Linked DNA regions of Homo sapiens: all the other regions are linked to region 1. Evidence: promoter capture Hi-C in 16 types of primary human blood cells and fetal thymus (Javierre and others, 2016). All regions are on one chromosome and are shown on one strand. Each heading gives the region's core, a stretch centred on a gene start or on the middle of the fragment in contact. The rest is flanking DNA. Distances are from core to core; before and after follow the strand shown. Region 1 holds the start of ANP32B (acidic nuclear phosphoprotein 32 family member B). Region 2 overlaps NCBP1 (nuclear cap binding protein subunit 1). Region 3 has its middle 23 kb from the start of TBC1D2.

The links. Contacts are between HindIII fragments. The CHiCAGO score rates a contact against its expected background, and 5 or more counts as called.
Region 2: a fragment that was not itself captured here is called in contact with the fragment with the promoter of ANP32B in region 1 in 1 of 17 cell types (erythroblasts); the score reaches 7.5 in erythroblasts.
Region 3: a fragment that was not itself captured here is called in contact with the fragment with the promoter of ANP32B in region 1 in 1 of 17 cell types (non-activated CD4 T cells); the score reaches 7.2 in non-activated CD4 T cells.

What each region holds. Positions count from the first base shown.
Region 1 is chr9:97,981,542-97,985,311 of GRCh38, reverse strand. ANP32B (acidic nuclear phosphoprotein 32 family member B) reads right to left here and starts at 1,971. Exons shown (of 7, transcript NM_006401.3): 1 at 1,703-1,971. The coding sequence starts at 1,756. The region is part of intron 2 of LOC124902226 (a long non-coding RNA gene); the gene reads left to right. RefSeq lists silencers at 642-871, 902-951, 962-1,161, 1,232-1,311, 1,502-1,591 and 2 more and an enhancer at 1,219-2,101. The HindIII fragment of the contact is 9,132 bases long and covers 1-2,375 here.
Region 2 is chr9:97,659,199-97,662,968 of GRCh38, reverse strand. NCBP1 (nuclear cap binding protein subunit 1) reads right to left here. Exons shown (of 23, transcript NM_002486.5): 16 at 1,901-2,023; 17 at 825-927; 18 at 1-15. It also overlaps a transcript of XPA not described here. Among named protein-coding and RNA genes, the nearest start is that of NCBP1, 27 kb to the right of the region's middle. The HindIII fragment of the contact is 946 bases long and covers 1,247-2,192 here.
Region 3 is chr9:98,276,712-98,280,481 of GRCh38, reverse strand. No RefSeq gene overlaps it. Among named protein-coding and RNA genes, the nearest start is that of TBC1D2, 23 kb to the right of the region's middle. RefSeq lists an enhancer at 58-743. The HindIII fragment of the contact is 5,565 bases long and covers 1-3,770 here.

The DNA.
Region 1 (3,770 bases), core at 722-3,221:
CCTCAAAGACTAGAGAGCAAGGATTTAAAATGTCGAGCACACCAGGTAAACCCTGGTCGACGAATTCCCACAAGTTCGCGACTTGTTAACCACAGCCACCTGAGGGCACGAAACCTGGCCGCTCGCTTAGCCCAGAGCGGGTCGGGAGGCCCCGCGGGGCCGCCCTCCGCGGGAAAGCCACTGGCCCGCTGGGGCACCCGGCCGCGGCGCTAACTGGCCCGCGCCGGTCCGCGGCGGGGGGGGGGCTCGCGACGGCGGGCAGCCGCGCTAAACCCGGGAGACGAATGGGGCAATTCCCACAGGTCGGACCCACGCCCACGCAGCCGCGCCGCAAGAGGGCCGCCCTCAGGCCCCTACAGCCCGCAAGGCGCGCGGCCGACCGCACCAGGCCGCTCTCAAGCACGTGGGAGGCCAGAGGCCGCCCGGCCCACGAGCCGAGCCGAAGCCCGCCCAAAATCCCGCGCGCCCGGCGCGGGGCGGGGGCGGCCGCCTGCCGTTGCCCTTTTAAGAAGGGGGAGGGGGTCGGCAGCGCGCCCGCGACGGGATGAGTCGGCGGCGGCCGCGGCGCGCGGCTCCCGCCAGTGGGAGCCAAGCCCCGGCGGGGCGGGGGGAAACAGACCGAGGGCTCGGCGCGGGAAGAGGCGGCCGCCAGCCAGCGCCGAGGGCGGGCGGGCAAGGCCAAGCTCGTGGGCCGGCTCACCAGGCGCAGGGAGACGGGCACCCGCCAACATGGCGCTGCGGCGGCCTGTGGCGCGCCCCGGCTGGCGTGAAGAGCCGCCGCCCGCCCACACGGAGGGGCCAGCCTCCCGGGGCAAGGGCAGGGGCCCCGGGCGCCGCCGCCGCGGCACAGGGGGAAGGGCGAGGCCGTCGCCACAACGGTTGGCCTTGGTCGACCCGGGCTGCCCCTGGGAGGCAGGAGTGGGCAAGGCCGAGGGCGAAGAGGGAGCGAGAGAACGGGGGAGAAAGTTTTATTTTTGGGCTTGAAAAATGGCGGGAACCACGTCCTTTTTTCAAACTTGGCCTCGGGAGGGGCGGCGGTTGCGCCACCTCCGCCGCCCTGGCCCGCCCCTCCCCCGCTCCGCGCGCCGGGCCGCGCCCGCCCAGGCCTCCAGGCGCCCGAGGGGGCTTCTCGCTCCCTTCAAAAGAAAAAAGCCCCCTCCTCGCCCCACGACTGCTGACCTCGGCCGGGCCGGCGCCCACGGCGAGCTCCGGCCACAAGAGCCCCCGTCCCGCCCCACCCGCGCCCCTTCCCCGGCCGGCCCGGGGCGCGCGGAGCCCGGCCTGGCCCAGGCGGGGATGGCCGCGCAGCTCCTCGGCAGGCCGGGCCTCCGCCCGGCCGCGCATCCCGGGAGGCTGCAAACATGGCTCCCAGCGTTACACAACCCCCGCCTCCCTCTCTCGCCGCCGGCCACTTGCACACGCGCTCCCTCAGGGGAAAGACCCCGGCGGGCGAAGCGCTCAAAGTTTGCTTTCCCCCACACCGCTGCCTCCCCCCGGCCGCCCCAGGGGCCCGCGGGCGGCAAAGAGTTAATCCTCGCGCGCTCGCTCCCCCCTCCGCGCCCGCCCGCCTTCCCCGTCCGAGCCCACGAGCTGCGCTCTTCCCCGCGCCGGGGCCGGCGAACCCTCAGCCCGGGCCCCGCAGGTGGCCACCATTACATGCAAGTCATCGGGGGAGAGGGCACCCAGAGGGGTCTCTGCTTACAGCTGCCGGGGTCCGGTTCCTCAGCTCCAGGTGGATCCTCCTCTTCATGTCCATGTTCCCCTCTTCCCCCCTCTTCAAACTTAACTTTCCGCGGCGGGGGCGGAGGGGGGAGAGGCGTCCCGGCTTGCGCAGCGAGGGCCGTCGGAAGGGTTTGCTAGCGGCGGAGGCCGGCGGCGCGGTCCTGGGTGGCGGGCGGCGTGCGGGCAGGCGAGCGGAGCCCCCGGAGCCAAGTTACTCACGGGAGCGGAGAGAAACCATGGAGGGAAAAGGGGGCTGGAGCGCAGCGCTGGGCTCACTACCGCCGCCCCCGGCCGCGGCCTGCACTGCGCTTAAACCGGCGACGCGGCGCGGCAGCTGCTCGGCTCCACTCGGCCCCGCGCGGCGCTGCTCGGCTCGGCGGCCGCGGCTGCACCAAGGCGGGGCGGGGAGACTCGCGGCGGGCGGGGCGGAGGCTGGGGAAAGGCGCAGCCCGAATAGAGGAGCGACTTCCTCCCTCTCTCCGATTGCACGTGGGGCGGCTGATGTAAGACCTTTCTCGTGGGTGGGGGGGCTTCCCCGCCCCCCGGCCCCCGCCGCGCTGAGACTCCTTCTACCTCCGGCCCCACGTCGTCGCGCCCGGAGCTGGGCTTGCGGCCCGGGCTGGGAGGTTCGCGGGAAGGGTTGGTGGGAAGCTTTGCAGTCCGGCTGCGGGGGTCCCTAAAACCCAGTCCATCCGGGGAGGCTCACGGGGGCGGCCCGACGCCCGCGGAGGCGCGAGATGTGAAGAAGCCGGGGACAGGCTTTGACGTTCACCTTTTGCCTGCCACACAGTCTGGGGCCAACAGGCCGAACCCCGCTGCCTCCTTGGCAGACTGGCGTCCGTAGTGCCGCCGAGGATCCCCCCCGTCGGGACGGAATCGCGGCCGACCGGCCCTGGCAGGGCAGCTGGGGTCGCTTGCTAAGCCACAGAGCAGCCGAGCATCCCCACCCTGTTCAGGAGAGTCTCCCTCGGTTTTCTAACATTTTAATAGGAGCTAGAGAAGGAAACGATTAGCATTTCTAATAGGGCCTCAGGGTTTCCCCGCAGACTTTTTTTTTTAATCTCATTTATTCCTTAGGGCACCCCTGTGAAGTGTGTAAATTCTTGGTGGTCTAAGTTTCGCTGAAACCTGGCAGGCAGCCTTTGTCATGGTCTGGCCCAAAGGGTCCCAGGGGTTAGAGCACCAGATCGGGATGAGTGTTGTGCTTTGCAGAACACCGGGGAATGACGTTATATTCAGCGTACAATAAGTAAATACATAATGTGTCAAATCAAATACAATCTAAGAAGATCGTACTGACAAGAAGCACCAAAAACTAAGAACAATTTGTTAAAGAAAAACTTGAAATTCTATGTATTAACATGAAGTTTTATGGAAGTTAAGAAAGTGCCCCCTTTCCTATTTTACCTAAGTTTTAGTGGCAAACAACCCAAATTTAGTTGTAAACCAATTATATATCAGCTTTTAAAATACTGAGTGAGTTAACATTTGAAGATGAAAGTTTTAGAAGGAATATGGGAAAAGAAAAACTTTCTGGTAGTAGTTCCCTGACTCCGTTTGTAGTCTCAGCAGACGTCTTTATGACAAGGGAAAATGGAGACAGATGTTCTCAGGGTTACAAAAGGTCTGTAACTAAGGTTATGAGAACCACAGGGCTATGCAATGAGGGCTTTTACCAAACAAAACAAAACAAAACAAAAAATCGGTTTCATGAGCCAACAAGCGATTATTGAGGATCTGCTTTAAGGGGCTTGATATTATTTCTCTAATTCTCAGACAACTTTCTGAAGTAGGTGATAATTTAATCATTTTACAGATGAGGAGCTCAGGAATCTTAAGCTGCACGTCCAGCAAGAAGCAGAGCTAGGATTTACACCCAGATAGGTCTGACTCCACAGCCCACCATCTTGTGCTACATCATCAGTCTGGCTAGAGTGGAGTCATAGCATGGTGGGGGGCTACTTTGGTGCTGTAGGTTGGGAACAGTTGCAGAGGGCTTTTAATACCAAACAGCATGCAAGTGTCCTCGTGCAGGAAAAGGGGGGATG
Region 2 (3,770 bases), core at 470-2,969, 320 kb after region 1:
AAGACTTCATGAAACCTTTTGATAATGATGGGAAAAAAATACCATATATACTTATTCATTAAACATTTTAGTGTTTTCAAAGCCTTTTCAATGTTACTCAATTTATAATGCAATATATAAATGCAAAATAACTAAGTATTAACCATTAAGGATGCAAAAAGTGTGATCACAGATTGATAGTTTTTAAGGAAGCTGTCACAAAATCTCAAGACATTTACAATATACTACCGTTAGCCCAGGGCTACAGTTTAAAAGAATAGGTAAGGACTAAGGAACTGTCTTCAAACATGGTGAAATATTCAAACTGCATCTTCTGTGGGAACCCTGCAAGTAATATAAAGCCTTGGAGACAGAGATGGGGTGAGATGTCCAGTTTCTCTGCTTGGCAGAAGGAAAATCTATGTGCTCTTTCTTCCTTTGGACCCTGTCTGACAAGTTAAAAATACCTGTCTTCAGATGCCAACCTTTGCGTGACTCCCAACAGTGTAGCTGATTCTAATTTCTTCTTACATTGCTTTGGAAAGATATTTAGCGTGGGAACTTCCAACTGCATATGACTGTCCCAAAAACCTAGGTTTTTCACTAGTTTCTTTAAATGTCTATATGAAAAAAAGCACTTACCATGTACATATGCCAACTGTACAAACAGACTGACGGAAGCCTTAGGATATGGATTTCAGCTACCACAAACCCAAACCCACTGTGTCCAATTATACACTATTAAGATCTTCATATTCAACAATCTTAGGTAAAAATTACCATACCACTGGTGTTCACCAAGCAAAATTCCAAACTCTCAAGCAAGGCTCTGTACTCATACATACTTTGCAAGAGCACTGAAGGAGTGGCTGAATGATTTGGCTGCCAAGTGTAGCAGAGTCTGTACAAAGACTTCTATTTTCAATGGGTTAAAACTGAATCCTTCATCTGAAAAATATTTTATAGTAAAACAGAAAAATGTAAGCACAGCAATTCCTTGGTGCCTTACCTCAAATGCTAAATAGATGGTTGCTCACATCTATACACAGATATTTGTGTAATGTTTTTTGGTTCTAATAAACAATAAAAGACCGTCACTGATTTCAAACACTGAAAATATGAAACCACTTGTAATTTTAAGTCTTAGTTTTATGTGACTGTCTTAATTCTATCATCCATTCCTTGAAAAAAAAAAATCACACAGGTTTCCTTATTCATAGCCTCTATTATATTAATACCAAAAAAAAAAAAAAAAAACACTTAAGCTTATGTCTTAAGATGTCTGACAACATCTGAATTTAATGCCATCATTTTGGCTTATTCTTTCTAAACTCATTTTCTCTAATATCATAATACAAATTTCTTAGAGATATCCAAACAAAATCCCAGTAATAAATACCCAAAGGCCACTAATATCTTATTTTGATTCAGTAGTTTTTCTATGTGCATATCCATTTATTGATTCAGGCAACTGTATAAATTATTTTGTCAATTTTCCCACTCTTGCCCAGAAAAACTCCTAGGATTCTGGTTGGAATTACATGGTATATAACTGAGTAAATGTTAAACATTATTATTCTAATAGCTTAACTTGGAGAAAACATCCAACTTTATAACACACCAAGTCTTTCTATTCAGGAACTTCTCTATGGTGAAAGCAGGGGTTAAAAATCCTTGAATGGTAACATATTTCACTTTGTATTTACGATGAAGTTTATATTCTTAAGTAAGCTATATCACAGAAATGTTAGGATCTCTTTTTATATAAGGGGAAAATACCTGGGGTGCTAAGAACAACAGTCTGAACAGGTCAAACAGATATAGATATATTGCTTTAAGAGCATCATGTTGCCAGAGTTATGTTTATGCTTTAAGTTGGCCTATACATAGTTCCACTTAAGAAATACTGAATTCCACTTACCGTCGTCATCATCCTGGTTAGGATTTGGTACATCTTTCAGAATGCTGAAGATTTCATCATTGGTTGCCTTACTTTTAAAGGCAACAGCTAAACAGAGGGCAACAGAATGTCCAGGAAGAGAATCTAAACACAGAATTGGGGGTAAGGGGAATGACAGATCAGGTTTCAAGACTATTCTAATGAACAGTTAAATAACTGAGAAAAATTTTTTTTAAATTCTTCCTTTCAAAATAGGATGCTCTTTATCCCAAGGTCAATATTTAATCACATATAAATACCGTATGTGAAAGCTTTTTCTAATAGGTTAATGGTTTTTCACCTAAAAAGGGACAATTCTCATTTCAACAATTCATTAAGGACACTTAGCTAAGTAAAATTTAGAGCACAAGGTGCTGATCATCCTCAAGATGAATGGTAAGGAGAAAAGTGGACACAGTTAAACTGTCTTTTAATGCCCTCAACTCTCCTGGGCTCAAAATCCCAGAACCAACGTACTTCTCTTTCATTTTGCCAACACCCACTTCCTCTTTCTTTCCTCGGGACCGTGGAAATGAAGTCTGAGTCTCAACAAGGTAATGGCTGCCAACTTCAGAGAGGTTTTGTTTTTGTACTTTTCTTTTTTGCTGAGTCCACAAGCTTGAATCTACGTAAGTCAGATGCTCACGTGATGGGACTCCTTGTATTTACTATTGGTTGGTATCAGTTGAGTCCTTATTATAAAAATTTGTGCTAATATACACCGTAAGGCATCACCAGAGCAACAAGAAATCTGCTTTTAATGTAAGGTAGACAAAGAGGTAACAAAAAAGGCAATCCTGTTATAGAGTATGAGTTACTGGAATGAATAAAGTAAATTACAACAGTCATGTGAGGACAGTCATATTACACCTGCTGTGAGCTTTTTCTCTAAAAAAAAGAAGGCGAAGAAAAACAGAATCCCCTGTCACCAGTCTACATTCTAGCTGGGGAACCAAGATATTCACATTAGACACAGCCAGGAAGCAATACAAAACTGGCTTGCTAACGGTTAAAAAATATTTACAGCTATTGAGCTTGGGCTAGAATCTAGAAGGAGAAAAGGAAGTGGAGCTAGAAAGGGCTTTCCAGACTGGGGTAATGGCAAAGTCAAGAACAGGGAGTATGGAAAAAATAAAAAAGTACATGGACCTGGCAGAAATAGAGGTCCATGTGGGGAGAAGTGAAAAATAACAAAGTAGGAACAATGGTTATGAAGGCCTTGAATGTTAGGCGGAGTTATTCCTATGGGGCAAAAAGAAAGCTTAATCTTCAACAAAAGCCTGAGCTTTCTGATAGCAAAGACTACACCTTATCATTCTCGGAACCAGTACAGGACAAAACTCAAAACCCAGCACTTCTAAGTACTGCATAAACCTTTGATCTGCCAAAAAGCACAGTGGCTAACAGCATGGCCACTCAGTTAGTGCACCTACGCCTGAATTTGGGCTCCACCACTCAAAAGCAATCTCATTCTAGCTTGACCTCTTGGAAGTCATTTCCTCATTGTAGTTTTGATAATCATATCTATTCTTCAGAGTTGACATAATGAAATAGGAAATGTACCAGGACCGACACAGTTCATTTCAAGGAAAACAGGTACAGTCAGAGACAGAGGTGGAGAAACAGGCACACAGTATGAAAAGCAAAGAACAGCAGAAAGTTGTGAGATACAAAGAACCTCTACACAACACAAAATGGAAGGATCATGGAGGGGCTGTGTTAAGTGTAATCTGCAAAGAACAAGTTGGAAAAACTCCACACCTAACTCTACCAGTGATCAACAATGTATAATACTTTACCTTCATTAAGTGTAAATACTATGCAAAGGGCAAAATGGCACATCAAATTACAC
Region 3 (3,770 bases), core at 813-3,312, 300 kb before region 1:
AGATTCACCAAGGGCATCATCTGAGGCTCTAGGCCCCAGTCTGAGAGCCTCTGGCCCAGGCAATGTGACCATGAGCAAGCCAGTGGCTCAGAGCAACGCTGGGAGATACACTCCAGGCCCCTGGGCTCCTCAGGTTGACTCATAAACCAGCCCCTGGGAGATTCTGGGCCTCAGGGACACCTGGTTTTGAGGGCAAGGGAGCCTGGGGGAGCAGGGGCAGCTCCATGTTGAGCAACAGTGACAGTGGCAATGATGATGGCAGTACCAGAGCTCCTGGGCGGCTATGACAACAGACACCTGCCATGGCTGTGGTGGCCACAGCTCTGAAGGCACCAGCCCCTCGATGGGAGTGGAGGTGGAGGTGGGGAGTTGGTCAAAACTAACTGAAGAGGTAGGGCGACCTCCACATCAGGAAGGATGCCGATTCACTCAGGGCTAGAGGCTGGCAGCTCTGCCACAGCAGAGAAGAACCTATGCAGACACAAAATCCTATGCCCAAGTTGCCCATTGACTAGATGCCCCCATCCCAGATCTTCACCCTGGGCCACTCAACCAGGCCTCCAGGATCTAGCAGAAGGACTCTGCCAGCATCTCAGGGCAGGGGAGGCAAGATGGAAGGTGTTCACCCCATCTGCAAAGAAAAGCCAGTTCTGAGTTTTTTCTGTGAAATAAGAGATTACAGACAAACGACGAGAAAATGGACTGAGAAGAAAAAAGGGAAGAAAGTGGGGAGGGAAGAAAGGAGGAGGGAGGGAGGGAAAGTTTTGAGATTGGAGTAGTGTCAGAAACCTGCACATTCAACTCCTCTCTCTTTAATTCTTGCTACAATGGCCCAACCAATCAGAGCAAATCCATATCCTCTTCCATAAAGATTATTCTATCTAGATGGTCTCTGAAAATTAGAGAAAGTGTCCCACGCACATCTCTAAAAGCTCAAGTCATTTCCACCGCTCAGGTAAAGGGTGGAGGGAGGAGAAGCAGCTGCAGGCCACCATCTTCTCACTAAGCGTGGAGAAGACCACCTGGGGTTAATTCAAACTCAGTAGTGCAAAAGCCAAGTAGTCTTGGATTTGATTTTAGAGCTTCCATTCTGAGTTCAAAGGACCTTCAGATGTGGGCCGGTATCTCCATGCAGGAGCTGCTGGAAGTCATAATTTCACAGGACTTCTGCAGAACCAGCGCTCCAGCATCCACTTTCTCTCACAAGTCACCCCCACCACAGGGAAGAAGAGGAGGCAAGTGAGAGCAGAATTCATGAGCAGCAGCCATCTCTTCTCATCCCATGGGGGAGCCGGGAAGGCTTAAATAAGTTCCCCTCCCTCCATAAGATCGGGGGTAGCTTAAGTATTCCTCCAGACCCTTTCCCCTTCACCAAGTAAGGGACTGGCAATGCCTTTCATCTGAAAACTTCAGCGCCATTGAACTGCCCAATGCCCAGGCCAGTGTTGCTGGCAGGTCGAGAGAGGGCTGAGCGGAAGAGAGGAAGACTAGGGTAGCCAGTGGCATTCCCACAGGGTGGCTTGGCAAGGAGATGTGGGTTTTCCATGGGTTGTGTGGGCACTGAGGAAGGTTGGGAGAATTTCATCATCCTAAGAGGCTGAGGAAAAAAGTAGATGGATGAAGTTCAGTCAGAACTTGCTCACCAGAGGATTGTGTCAGAAGGACCCACTGGAAAGCCAGCACTCAGACACCTGCCTGGCAGAGGAACAGACAGCCAGATAGGAACAAAAGAAGTGATGCCAGCAGAAAGAAGACTGTAACCTCACGCAAGGAGTCACAGAAAGCAGTGTTCTGATACCTCTCCCCTCTCTTGCCTCCTTTCCCTGATATCTCAGAGAAAATAGAGAATGGGAGAGCAAACCTCATCACCTCCCTCCCTGCCCCAAGTCACAGAAACCTCAAGTGCCTGCCTGGGAAGAGTGCACTTTTTTTTTTTTTTTAAACATCCAGAGACTCTTTACTTTTTGTGGCTTTATTGAGATAGAATCCACATACCACACAATTCACCCTTGTAAAGGGTGCAATTCAGCCAGGCATGGTGGCTCACACCTATAATCCCAATGCTTTGGGAGGCCAAGACAGGAGGATCCCTTGAGCCCAGGAGTTTGAGACCAGCCTGGACAGCATAAGGGGACTCCATCTCTACACAAAATTTAAAAATTAGCCCGGCGTGGGGGATGCACGCCTGTAGTCCCAGCTACTCAGGAAGCTGAGGCAGGAGGATCACTTGAGCCCAGGAGTTTGAGGTTATAGTGAGCATGATTTTGCCACTACAACAGACTGAGATCCTAAAAAAATAAAATAAAATGAATTAAAGTATACAATTCAAATTTTTTAGTATATTCACAGATTCATACAATCATCTCCACAATCTAACTTTGGAACATTTTCATCACTCCAAGAAGAGTTAGCTGACAGTCCCTATTTCTCCCCAAGTTCCCCCAGCCTAAGCAACCACGAAATCTACTTTCTGTCTCTGTAAGTTTGGACATTTCACATAAATGGAACTTGCAATATGTGGTTCTTTGTGATGGGCTTCTTTTACTTAAGATAATGGGTTCAAAATTCATGTGTTATCAATATGAATGCAAGATAATGCATTCATATTGCAGCATGGATCAGGACTGCCTCAACTTTTATTGCCGAATATAGTCTATAGTATGTGTATACATTTTACTTTATGCAATTATTATCCATGTTATCAGTTAGCAAACATTTGAGTTGTTTCTACTTTTGGACTATTATGAATAATGATATTATGAACACTCAAGTTTTTGTGTGGACATAATGTCTTTGTTTTTCTTGGGGATATAACTAGGAGTGGAATTGCTGGGTTGTATGGTAACTCTAGTTTTAACTGTTTGAGGAACTGCCAGATTTTTCCACTGCAGCTACAACATTTTACATTCTCATCAGCATGTATGAGGGTTCCAATTTCTCCTTATGCTTACCAACATTTGTTATTATCTATTTTTAAAAAAAAATTCATAGCCATCCTGGTAGATGTGAAGTATCTCATTGTGGTTTTCGTTTGCATTTCCCTGATGGCTAAAGATATTGAGCATCTTTTCATGTACTTATTGGCCATTGACATATCTTCTTTGCAAAAATGTCTGTTCAGAGCCTTTGCCTTTTATTTATTTATTTCTGGAACGGGGCCTCACTTTGTCGCCCAGGCTGGAATGCAGTGGTGTGATAACAACGGCTCACTGCACCCTAGAATTCCTGGGGCTTAAAGGAATCCTCCCACTTCAAATTCCCGAGTAGCTAGGACTGCAAGCGCAAGCCACCACTCCCTAATTTTTTTAGTTTTGTAGAGACAGAGCCTCCCTATGTTGCCCAGCTAGTCTCCAATTCCTGGGTTCCAAGCAATCCTCCCACCTCAGCCTCCCAACGTGCTGGGATTATAGGCATGAGCCACTGCACCCGGCGCCATTTTTAAGTTGAATAATTTGAATTCTTCCTATTGAGATGTAAGAGTTTGTTATGTATTCTAGATACAAGTTTCTTATTTGATCCACGATTTGCAAATATTTTCTTCCATTCAATGGGTTATCTTTTCATGTTATTGAGGGTGTTCTTTAAAGCATAAAAGTTTTTAATTTTGATGAAGTCTTACTTTTTTCTTTTATTGCTTATGCTTTTGCTGTCATATCTAAGCTCAAATCACAAATACTTCTGTTTTTCTTCTGAAAGTTTTTTAGTTTTAGCTCTTACATTTACAATCCATTTGAGTTAATTTTTGGGTAAGGTATGCGTAAGGAGTGCAA